Regions from separate parts of the Homo sapiens genome. Here region 1 is linked to region 2. The links are contacts of gene promoters, found by promoter capture Hi-C in human tissues and cell types (Jung and others, 2019). All regions are on one chromosome and are shown on one strand. Each heading gives the region's core, a stretch centred on a gene start or on the middle of the fragment in contact. The rest is flanking DNA. Distances are from core to core; before and after follow the strand shown. Region 1 overlaps PRDM4 (PR/SET domain 4). Region 2 holds the start of SSH1 (slingshot protein phosphatase 1).

Region 1 (6,132 bases), core at 698-3,197, 1.1 Mb after region 2:
TACTTCCTTCCTGCCATTTGTTTTGGTGTATAGGTTTTTACCAATTTTCATAATTAAGACCACGGTTTCTTCTCTTGCTCTCTTTTTTCTTTTCTTTTTTTTTTTTTTCTTTTAATGGAGACGGAGTCTCAACTATTTTGCCCAGGCTGGACTGGAACTCCTGGACTCCAGTGATTCTCTCACCTCAGACTCTTGAGTAGCTTGGAATACAGGCACATGCCTGCCTTGAGACCATACCATATTTCATTTCTTTTTTATAAATAACTTTTTTAAAAAAAGAGATGGGGTTTTGGCATGTTGCCGAGGCTGGTCTCGAACTCCTGCGCTGAAGCCATCCGCCCACGTCAGCATCCCAAAGTGCCGGGATTACAGGCATGAGCCACTGTGCCCTGCCCAAGACCATACTTTCTATACGATTGTCTGTCTTTACTTTTTTCACTTTATCTTTTTCTCTGCTGTTACATGGGTATTTTCCTTTGCTGCTACGTGGTTTTCATAATTATCCTTTTTAATGATGCATTACTTTCTACTGAATGGGTATTTGATGGTTTATTATCTTTATTGTTGGACAGTTTGGTTTTTCCAGTTTTTATTACCATTGTAACTAATGCTCTTATGAACGTCTTTATGTATAATATTTACAAAATGGATTTAGAGAAGAGTACCTTAAGTGGAATTTCTTGTGCAAGAGGGTATTAACATTTTTGAGGCTCCTAATATATATGCTTCACAAAGAAGTTTTAGCAGTTTACATTCCCTCTGGCAGTTTAGTAAGTATCATTTCACCATATCCTCCCAAGCACAAGTGTTAATTTTTTTTTGTTTTAATAAAACAGGTACAATTGTGACTTGTATTAAATAGTTTGTGTTATGATAGTTTAATTATATTAAATTATATTTAATTAAGTTTTATTTTTCACATGGAAGATCTGTTTTTAAATCATTTTACCTTTTAATAATTAGGAGAGCAAATTTTACACCTTAGGACTCAGGAATTGCAACCATATGTATATTAAAAGCAGTGTTTTCGTTAGTGATTCCCAGTTAGCTTCAAAGGAACATAGTTAACTTTTTTAGGATTTTCGAGTTTTACAGGAAAAACTCAATTACGGTATATGTATGTTGCTATTTATAAAATAGTGTGTATCGATTAAATTAAAGAAGCAGGAGATTATTTGAACTTAGTTATGTTTGTAAGGAAATAGCGTCTAGTGCTTGGAATTCTTTAATAATGTACTAAAAGTCTCTGATATCTCATCTTTTCCTTTTCTCAGGCATTTTATCTTATTTAGCTGACAGACCACCTCCACAGTACATCCACCCTAACTCTATAAATGTTGATGGTAATACAGCATTATCTATCACCAATAACCCTTCAGCACTAGATCCCTATCAGTCCAATGGAAATGTTGGATTAGAACCAGGCATTGTTTCAATAGACTCTCGCTCTGTGAACACACATGGTGCCCAAAGTCTTCATCCCAGTGATGGCCATGAGGTGGCCTTGGACACAGCAATCACTATGGAGAACGTTTCTAGGGTTACCAGCCCAATTTCGACAGATGGAATGGCAGAGGAGCTTACGATGGACGGTGTTGCAGGCGAGCATTCCCAAATCCCAAATGGCTCCAGAAGTCATGAACCTCTGTCTGTGGATTCTGTGAGCAACAACCTTGCAGCAGACGCTGTAGGACATGGTGGTGTGATACCCATGCATGGGAATGGCCTGGAGCTCCCTGTGGTCATGGAGACAGACCACATTGCAAGTCGGGTCAATGGCATGTCTGACAGTGCCCTCAGTGACTCCATTCACACTGTGGCCATGAGCACCAACTCTGTAAGCGTGGCACTCTCTACCTCACACAACCTTGCCTCCCTAGAATCTGTTTCCCTCCATGAAGTTGGCCTCAGCCTAGAACCTGTGGCTGTCTCCTCCATCACCCAGGAGGTTGCTATGGGGACAGGTCATGTAGATGTATCTTCAGACAGTCTTTCTTTTGTATCACCTTCACTGCAAATGGAAGACTCCAATTCAAACAAGGAGAACATGGCAACCTTGTTTACAATTTGTGAGTGTGTTTAGCCTTTCTTTTTTGGAAATATTTGTAAAAAGGGCCACCATCCCTAACAAGTTAAGTCGTAAAGTTTGGCATTAAGGGAGTATAGAAAGCAACTAGACCTTGGAACTTTTCTTTGCCTTGGTATTGTCCTTTATATTAATGTGGTGCCTTTTCTTCAAGTAAGCCAAATGATATACATACATTTAGTTGGTTCTTAGAGCATCCTCCTGAAGAAATGAAATGTGAAGTAGTCATTTTTGTATTTTGCAGATAAGCTTAGCACATGCGGTAGTGTGTGCCTGTAGTCCCAGCTATTCTGGAGGCAGAGGCAGGAGGTTGCTTGAGCCCAGGAGTTTCAGGCTATAGTGTTCTGTGATCCCACCTGTGAATAGTCCCAGCTATTCTGGAGGCTGAGGAAGAGGGTTGCTTGAGCCCGGGAGTTTCAGGCTATAGTATGCTGCGATCACACCTGTGAATAGTACTGCACTCCGGCCTGGGCAACAAAGTGAGACCCTGTCTCTAAAAAACAATCATAGTGATAATACAATATTTTTTTAAAAAAGGTAAGTTTAGCCCAGTAATAGTTAAGGTATTTCCCAAGGTTTCACAAATAGAGAGTTATAGGGGTAAATTCTAGTAAAGCTGTTTGTGACATGCCTTGTGAAAATTATTCAGTCACTTTTATAACCCCATGGAAAAATGTAGGTGGATATAAACCAATTTTTTTCTTTGCTCAGAGTGCATATAAATTATTATTCTTGGGCGTGTAAAAGTTTTTCTTATTGGGCAACAACAACAAAAAACAATATAAAAACAGTTGATTTACTGGTGTCACTGTGTTTCATTCATGCAGGAAACATGTTGAGTGCTTATTTTAATTTATTGATAGGGTTTCTCTGTCGCCCAGGCTAGGGTGCAGTGGTGCGATCACGGCTCACTGTAGCCTCGACCTCCTGGGCTCAAGTGATCCTCCCACTTTAGCCTCCCGAGCAACTGGGACCCCAAGTGTGTACCACCACACCTGGCTAATTTTTAAATTTTTTGTAGAGATGGGGGTCTCACTGTGTTGCCTTGGCTGGTCTTGAACTCGACTCAAGCAATCTTCCTGCTTCAGCCTCCCAGAGTGCTAGGATTACAGGTGTGAGCCATCATGCTGGGCTTTTTAGTGCTTACTATGTGGCAGCCTCTGCTAGATGCTAGGGATAGAACGATCTACCAAGAGACAGTATGTGTACATACCTTTAAGGAGCTTACAGTCTGGTAGGAAGCATAGGAGACTGTTACAATATAGGATAATAATAAGTGTGACGATGGGGTGAAGTGCATTGGTACTAAAGTAGCCTGAAGGGGAGCAACTAGCCAGGCCATGGAAGGGTCGGGGAAGATTTAACCAAGGGAAGTAACATACATGTTAGCACAGACCTTAAGGACAAGAAAGATGTGGGCAGTTGAGAGTCAGGAAGACAGGAGCTGGCACCTGTAAGTGCCTAGAACCAAAAGAATCATGAGTGTTTCAGAATTGCTGAAGCATAAAATGAGGGTGAAGAGAGGGGTCATGTGGTGAGAGGAGAAGTAGGAGCCAGAACACAAAGGCTCTTTTAAGACCGGTCAAGAGTTTTAGGGAGTGAGGGTTGGGGTAGGGCTTTGCTGCAATGTGAGAATAAATTTGTTAAGAGGCAAGGAGGTGTGGAAGATATCATAATTTATGGGAAAGGTGATGATTCTCACCAATCTAGAGTAGAGGTAATTAGGATGCAGAAGAGTGGAGGACATTTGCAGAGAACCCAGTTGAGCTTATCGATTGGATAAAGTTGGAGGAGGGAAGCATTAAGGAGAAAACCCTGGTTTCTGGCTTCTGAAACTAGGTAGATAGAAACTAGGTAAGTAGAGAAGGCCATGTGTTGGCTCACACCTGTAATCCCAGCACTTTGGGAGGCTGAGGCAGAAAGATCATTTGAGACCAGGAGTTCAAGATCAGCCTGGGCAGCATAGTGAAACCCTGTCTCAGGAAAAAAAAAAAAAAAAAAGCAAACAGAAACTAAGTAGGTAGGGTAGTAGTGAAAGGCAGAGGAGGATATGATTTTGATTTTTATTATTTTGGGAGGAGTGACGATGAGTCAAGTTTTAGACATGTTGATTTCAGTGTCTGTAAGACACCCAGTAGAGATGTCTAATGAAAAGTTGTGTGTGGACCTGAGAGAGATCTGTCTGGAAATATTTAAGAATCATCAACATTAAGATGTTATTTGTGGCTGTAGAAGTGGAATGAAATCATCTAGTAAGAGTGTGGACTGAGAAGAGGGCTAGGGATATCAAGATATAGCAGAAGAGGAGCTTCCAAATAGACTCAACGGGAGCATCAAAAATAGGAGGAAGCCCAGAACCATTCTGTGCCACAAAATCCAGCCCATGGAGAGACTAGTTTTAACCTTTTAAAGTCTCAAATTTAGAGTTTTAAAATGTTTTAATCGAAGAATGTAATGAATATAAGGCTAATTTAGCAGAAGGTAGGAGGTGGCCTAAATAAGCTTATTGATTTTTTTCTTAAGAGGGCAAATGGAACCTCTTCTAAGTGTGTGTGGTTTATAATGAGATATAATTTATGTATACATTTTAAACGTGCAATTTAGTGGTTTTTTTGGTGTATTTACAAGGCTGTGCAACCACCACCACTGTCTCCTTCCAAAACATTTTAGTCACCCGGTAAAGAAACTTCATAACCATTAGTCACTTCCCATTCCCTCCTTCCGCGTATTCTCAGCAACCACTAATCTACTTTCTGTCTCTATGGATTTGCCTTTTCCAGATATTTCATATAAATGGAATCATGCGATACTTGGCCTTCTGGATCTAGTTTCTTTCTCTTCGCATAATACTGTTCTGTCTCATCCATGTTGTAGCATGTATTTGTACTTCATTTCTTTTTAGAGCTGAATAATCTGTAATATGGATATACCACATTTTGTTTATCCATTTATCAGTTGATGGACATTTGGGTTGTTTCTGCTTTTTGGCTACTATGAATAATGCTGTTATGAACTCTCATGTACAAGTTTTTGTGTGAACATCTGTTCTTGGATATTTAGGAGTAGAATTGCCGTATGTTTAACTTTTTGAGGAACTGCTTTCCAAAGTGGCTGTGCCATGTTACCGTCCTAGCAGCAGTGGATGAGGGTTCTAATTTCTCCACATTTTTGCCAACAGTTAATTTTTTATTTTTATTTATTTATTTTTTTATTTTTTTGAGACAGAGTCTGGCTCTGTCACCCAGGCTGGTGTGCAGTAGCGCAATCTCAGCCTCACTGCAACCTCCACCTCCCGGGTTCAAGCCATCCTTCCACCTCAGCCTCCCCAGTAGCTGGGACTACAAGTGCTCGCCACCATGCCTGGCTGATTTTTTGTATTTTTGGTAGAGACGATTTGCCGTGTTTCTACCTGGTCTCATGCGTTCGAGACCAGCCTAGGCAACATGGCAAAACCCTGTCTCTAGCAAAAGTATTAAAAAATCAGCCAGACGTGGTGGTGCATGCCTGTGGTCCCAGCTACCCAGCAGGCTGAAGCAGGAACGCCACTGCACTCCAGCCTTGGTGACAGATCGGGACCCCGTCTTAAAAAAAAAAAGAAAAGACAGATAGATGACTGTGGTTCTAAGGTTTATGTATTCCAACTATTTTGTGAATGGTTGTGGAGTTTAAATGTAATGATTGAGTAATAGTATCATAAATACTGTTCCTTAGCAGAGTGGAAAGTGTAAAGAATAGAGCAGAAGATTTACGGAGGAGGACACTCATAAGCTTGTGAAAGTGAAGTTGTAGTAAGAATAGAGAACAATATATAAAGGGAGCATCCTCTCTGCCAATGCAGAAAGAAAGACCATATGAAAAATAAGAAATTAAGAATTTTAAGCAAATAATGTCTGCAAGAATACAATTCTTCTGCCCTTTGAAAGAGCAGGCTGCAAATTGTTTTTGTCTTAAGAATGTGTCCTCAAAACTTGGTTGACCATCTTGTTTATAGTGAAGCAAAAGAGTACAGTGGTGTAGCTGGCTCTGACGCCAGTGTCCTATGTTCA
Region 2 (5,993 bases), core at 2,143-4,642:
TTCCTGAGGCTTTTCTTAGGGACCGTTCCTGGCTCTACGGTAATGGGACAAGACAGAGAGATGGACCCATTATGATAAGGCAGACTGACACTTGCTGTGTGTTTAAGGGTAGGGTGAGGGCTACGAGATCCTGGAAATGACACTGCTTAAGGGGCAGGGAAAGCTTTTTGGAGGTGATTTCTAGCAAGAGTTAGTTGTGGGGAAGAAAAGGGCTCTCAGCTCTAAGAGGAAGTGAGAAGGGGTGGAGACTGCCTCCAAAAAAGTTGGGGTGAGTGGAAAAGCAGGCCGGCCAGAGCAGGGGGATTAGGATTGGGGGCCACGGACGGGTACCAGGATCAGATCTAGGTAGGAATTTCTTGGTGAAGAGGCCATTGCATTTGTATAGGCAGTAGTTCTCAGACTGTCGTCCCCAGACAGAAGCATCAGCATTGCCTGTGAATTTGTTAGACGTGCAAATTTTCCAGCCCTACAGCAAACCTTGTGAATTCGAAACTCTGGGAGGTGGGGTCTAGCAATCTGTATTTTCTCCAGGGGATTCTCAAACTCTCAAATTTGAAAACTAATGTAAGAGAGACATAAAAGAAAAATAAATCATAATGAAACAACATGCATTACAATGTGGAAATGCTCAGCCACTACTCCCTTAGAGGACACAGGGGCATCTCAGAAGCATGGGCCTGCCAATAATCAATGTGCTTGGATTTGAGAAATAAAATATTCTCTACTCAACTGAATTTTGTCCACAATTTTCCCTTATATTTGACATTTAAGTACCTATGACTGTCTGTCTACCTAGAGTGCAGCTACAGTTGTGGGCACCTTGTGTGGGATGCTCTAATATTAGCAGAGGCGTTGCCATCCATTACCTCCTTTTCCCTAAGGATGGATGAACAACTCTTGACAAAACTCTCAAGCAAAACAAAGTGTATTTTCCCTTCCTTTCCCTCCCCTCCCCTCCTCTCCCCTCCCCTCCCCTCCCCTCCCCTCCTCTCCCCTCCCCTCCTCTCCCCTCCCCTCCTCTCCCCTCCTCTCCCCTCCCCTCCCCTCCCCTCCTCTCCCCTCCCCTCCTCTCCCCTCCCCTCCTCTCCCCTCCTCTCCCCTCCTCTCCCCTCCCCTCCCCTCCCTTCCCTTCTCTCTTTCTCTCTGTCTTGCTGTGTCACACAGGCTGGAGTGCAGTGGCACGATCTCAGATTGCTGCAACCTCTGCCTCCCGGGTTCAAGTGATTCTCCTGCCTCAGCCTCCTGAGTAGCTGAGATTATAGGTGCCCGCCACCATGCCTGGCTAATTTTTTGTATTTTTAGGAGAGACAGGGTTTCAACATAGTCACCTTTCTGAAAATTCAGTAAAAAATACCAGGCTAGCCATGGTGGCTTCTGTCTGTAATCCCAGCACTTTGGAAGGCGGAAGCAGGAGGATTGCCTGGGCAACATAGTTAAACTTTTTTTTTAAAGGAGCTGGGTGTGGTGGTGTGTACCCGTTGTACTCAGGAGACTGAAGCAGGAGGATGATTTGAGCCTGGGAGATGGAGGCTGCAGTGAGCTATGATTGTGACATTGCACTTCAGCCTGGGTGACGGGAGTGAGACCCTGTTTCAGAAAAAAAGTGAGAGAAAGAGAGGAAGGAAGGAAGGAAGGCAGGAAGGAAGGAAGGAAGGAAGGAAGGAAGGAAGGAAGACTAGTGTTGATGCATGAAATGGAGTTAGGTTCTGGCTTCAAATTACTATAAATGGGTTTTTCACCCAGGAAACATTTTGTGGGAATGGAGCAATTCTTGTTGGGGAGACTGTCCAGTGCATTGGAAGACATTTAGCATCCAAGGCTCTTGCACTCTAAATGCCAGGAGCTCTCCCCCTCCATCAGCAAGACAACCACAAACATTCCCACAAATCCCCTCTTAGAAACGCTCCGTAGAAGCTACAGTGCCCCCCACTAGAATCACCTTTGAGATGAATCGTGCTGAGACCCTGTGAATAACATGGAGGAGGTCACAGCCCCAGGACAGAGGGAGGGACGGGGAAGAATCCAGGAGGCTGCGTGGGTTTCCTGTTGGGCAGTAAGACAAATTTGCTAAGCTGCGGGGCAGGCTGGGACCACTGCGTTTGCGAGTGCTTGTGCAACATGCAGAGGTTGGGGGTGGGAGCCGGGAGATGAGATTTTGGCTAAAAGAAAAGTTTCCTACTACTAAGTCAAGCCAGAATTGCCTTCTTGGTATCTTATTCCATGTTCCCCTCTCCATCCCCATAACTGGTCACCTCTCCCCGGGACAACAGCAGCAGCCTCCTCCCTGGTCTCCCTCAGCCCTCTGCCCCGTGGTCCCTCATCCACGCAGCAGCCGGAGCGATCTTTCCAGAGAGGATGGAGACTCCAGCCATTCCTCCCCTCTTCCCTTCCCTGAGTGCTGGCCTCCGGTTGACAAACTTCTTCCTGCTTCAGGGCACGCTGATCCCCCCTGCTTGGAGAGCTGTCTCTCTGTTCTTTCACCTGTTAATCCTGCTTATGCTCAAGCCCAAGCCTCAGAATAAAGCTCTTCTGGGAAGCCTTCCCTGACCTCCAAGGAGTTGGCTGGGTTTCAGAACACCCAGAAAGAATTCATTGAAAAAGATTAGCAAAATACTTTTTTAAAAACGTGCCTAATAACTTGATTAACCTCTGCAAAATCAGGCGAATCTATTTTGCTTACTGTTTTTGTTTTTTGTTTTTTGTTTTTTTGAGACCGAGTCTCGCTCTGTCGCCCAGGCTGGAGTGCAGTGGCGCGATCTCAGCTCATTGCAACCTCCGCCTCCCAGATTCAAGCGATTCTCTTGCCTCAGCCTCCCGAGTAGCTGGGACTACAGGCGCGCACCACTGCGCCCAGCTAATTTTTGTCTTTTTAGTAGAGACGGGGTTTCACCATGTTGGCCAGGATGGTCTCGATCTCTTGACCTCGTAATCCGCCCGCCTCAGCCTCCCAAAGTGCTGGGATTACAGGCGTGAGCCACCGCGCCCGGCCCCAGGACGTCTTTTATTTCCTGGTCGCTGTACAGTCCTGTCTGCACGGTCGCCGGGCCTCAGTTTCCCCAGGCAGAGCAGCGGGCAGGGCCCCTGGGGCGTACGGGCTCCGGGCGGCGCGCGCGCCCCCGAGTCCCAGGCCTGATAGCGGGGCGCGCGGGCGGGGGCGCGTGTGTCGGGCGCGCGAGGGACGTGATCGACCAGCCGAGGCCTCGGGCAGCCCTCAGGGCCCCCGCGCACGCGCGCCTCCTCGTCCCGCCCTGCCCGCTTCCCCGCCCACTCCGCGCACTGAGGCCTGCGCGCGCCGGCGCGGGAGGCGGGAGCTGGGGGCGGGGGCGGTGGCGACGCCGAGGGGGAGGGGCGGGCCCGGCCCGGCTCGGCCCGGCCGCCCGCGCGCGGCTCCAGGAGGCCCCGGGCCCGGCCCGGGCGGCGGTGGCGGTGGCGGCTCTAGCTCGAGACGTCTGTGGCGCCCTCGCACCGCGCCGCAGCCATGGCCCTGGTGACCCTGCAGCGCTCGCCCACGCCCAGCGCCGCCTCCTCCTCGGCCAGCAACAGCGAGGTGAGCCCCGGGCTCGCCGCGCCCGGCCTGGGCCGCCGGACGCCGCGCCGAGGCCGCCGGAGCTGGGGCCGCGCGTGCGGGGCAGGGGGGCGGCTGCGCGGGCTCCTCGGGGCCCCGCCGTAGGAACAGAGCCGGGCAGCCGGACCGGGGTGACCGTGCGAGGACTGTGTGCGATGTGACCCTGTCTTGGGGAGCTGTGCGGGGACTTTGTGTGCGGTGTGACCCCTATCGGGGGGCGACTTTGCAGGGACTGTGTATGCAGTGCGACCCCTCTGGGAGTGTCTGCAGGATACTGTGTGTGCGCTGTGACCCACATCAGGGGGTTACCCCCATCTTGGGGTGACCCCTGTTAGGCGGAGACTGTGTGCGTTGTGACCCCTAAGGGTGACTGTGCAGAGACTGTGTGTGCAGATGTGACCTCGTGATTGTGTGGGGACTGTGATTTCAGGTGTGACCCCCATCTTGGGTTGACCTCTGTCTGGGGAGGACTGTGCGTCTGTCGGGACTCCCATTTGTGAGTGACTCTGCAGTGTGACCAGGGTCCAGGGGTGACTGGATGTGCAACTGGGACCCTTGATTGGGTGACTGCGTGAGCCGCTGGTTCTGAGACCTGTGGCCGGGGTAGTTCTAGGCCCTTTGCCTGTATGCCTGGCTGTGCGATGTGAGATGTGACTGTTGCTGACCTGCCGTCCGGGGACTGTGCCAGCGTGAGACAGGCATCTGGGAGTGCCCCTACAAACGTGTGAGATTGTTTCCCCGCCTGCCGCCTCTGGAGTTCTGTCTGTAGGCGTGCCCGTGTCACTGTGTGACGGTGACCGAGCGTGCTGTGGGCTCTGTGTGGCTGTGTTTCACGTCTGTGCGTGCAGCCTTAGTCTGGCTTTTCCTTTCTGTAACATCACTCAGGCCTGTGTGTTTATGTGCATCTATCTTTCTGTGTGGCTGTGACCCATTCTGGGTGATTGCATAGGTGCATTCCTGGGTTGCGTGTCCTGGCACTGTGCGCGTTTTTGTGGGTCTGTGTGTGGCCCAGGTCCGTTTGCCTGGCCACTTTTTCCTCTGGGGTTGATTGAGGGCACTGTTGCCCTCTTAGCCTGCAGGGTTGGCCTGGCTTGTCCTAGGCTGGGGCCTTGGGCCTCTGAGCAGGTCAGCCCTCTGTAGCTGCAGGGATGACCCTCTGGTCGCGCAATCTTGCCCACCATCTCTTGAAGAACCCGTCAAGGCCTCTGGTCTAAACTCTTACCTATAACAAGGCTGAGTGTCCGCCTGCAGACCCTTAGCTGTGTTTAGAGAAGACTGGAGGAGCGGCCCTGCGGTCCCAGGCCCAGGAAGTTCCGCAGCCAGCATCTGGGCTCTTCAGCCCCTTTCTTTGTGGGAGGGAGTGGGGGAAGTTGACTGATAACACGGGGGAGGTTTGTGTGTCTGAGAGAGACAAGAGAATAATGTTTGCATTTGGCTTGACAGCCCTGTCTCCTGGTAGGGTAGTTCTTCAGCCTTGTTTTGCTGGGATTGGCAGGGACATTTTCAGAGTGGCTGGGAAGTTGAACCTTCACAGCCCCCTCCTTGGAGAGGAGAGGCCATTCATGAGTTATCTATACACAGAAGGTTCTAGTAATCCCCCTCTACACGCTGATTAGAGGCAAAAGAACACTGGCGATCAATAGCCTGCTACTGAGAAGTTAGGTTGCAGGAGCGCCTTTCCTTCCCACAGCGAGGAGGGGCTGTTTTCTGTTCCGGTCACTGCTGTCTGGCAATTTATGCACTTAATCTCAGGTTCTCATCACAAAAGTTTATGTGAGGTAAGGGGAGAGGTTGGCTTCAGGCTGAACCTGTCAGCCCAGATTTCTGATTCAAAACCCCATGTTCCTAGAGTTACTTGCAACCTAATCTGTTCTTGTCTTACGCATTTTAAGGTCTTATTATTTTTTAGTTACATACCATAAATTTGCCATTTTAAAGTGTACAATTCAGTGGTTTTTAGTATATACATGAGATTGTGCAACCACCACCATCTAATTCCAGAACATTTTCATCCTCCCCAAAATAGGAACCCTGTACCCGTTAGCCCTCACCTGCAGCCTCCCCCTGCCCCATTCTCCCTAACCTTAGGCAACCACTAATCTACTTTCTGTATCTATGGATTTGCTTATTCTGGACATTTTATATAAATGGAATCACACCCTGTGTGGCCTTTTGTGTCTGGCTTCTTTGACTCAGCATCACGTTTTCAAAGTTCATGCATATTGTAGCATGTGGCAGTACTTCATTCCTTTTCATGGCTGTATAATACTCCATTGTATGGATGTACCACATTTTGTTGGACATTTGTGTTGTGTCTACTAGATACATTTTCAATTATTATATAAAGCATTATTTTTACCAAGTGCCAATGACCCTGATAAACATAAAGTAAAACTCAGGCAGCTTTTATTTGATCATAGCAAAGCTG

What was found. The method cuts DNA at HindIII sites, captures the fragments that hold promoters and counts their contacts. A contact is called where the count stands out against the background at its distance.
Region 1: a contact is called between a fragment that was not itself captured here and the fragment with the promoter of SSH1 in region 2, in 1 of the 25 tissues and cell types used here (mesenchymal stem cells).

Annotation. Positions count from the first base shown.
Region 1 is chr12:107,747,352-107,753,483 of GRCh38, reverse strand. PRDM4 (PR/SET domain 4) reads left to right here. Exons shown (of 12, transcript NM_012406.4): 5 at 1,275-2,069. All of the region lies in intron 3 of PRDM4-AS1 (PRDM4 antisense RNA 1), which reads right to left. Among named protein-coding and RNA genes, the nearest start is that of PRDM4, 11 kb to the left of the region's middle. The HindIII fragment of the contact is 3,030 bases long and covers 433-3,462 here.
Region 2 is chr12:108,854,982-108,860,974 of GRCh38, reverse strand. SSH1 (slingshot protein phosphatase 1) reads left to right here and starts at 3,392. Exons shown (of 15, transcript NM_018984.4): 1 at 3,392-3,547. The coding sequence starts at 3,479. RefSeq lists a silencer at 2,923-3,662 and enhancers at 4,093-4,142, 4,195-4,696, 5,811-5,993. The HindIII fragment of the contact is 11,424 bases long and covers 1-5,993 here.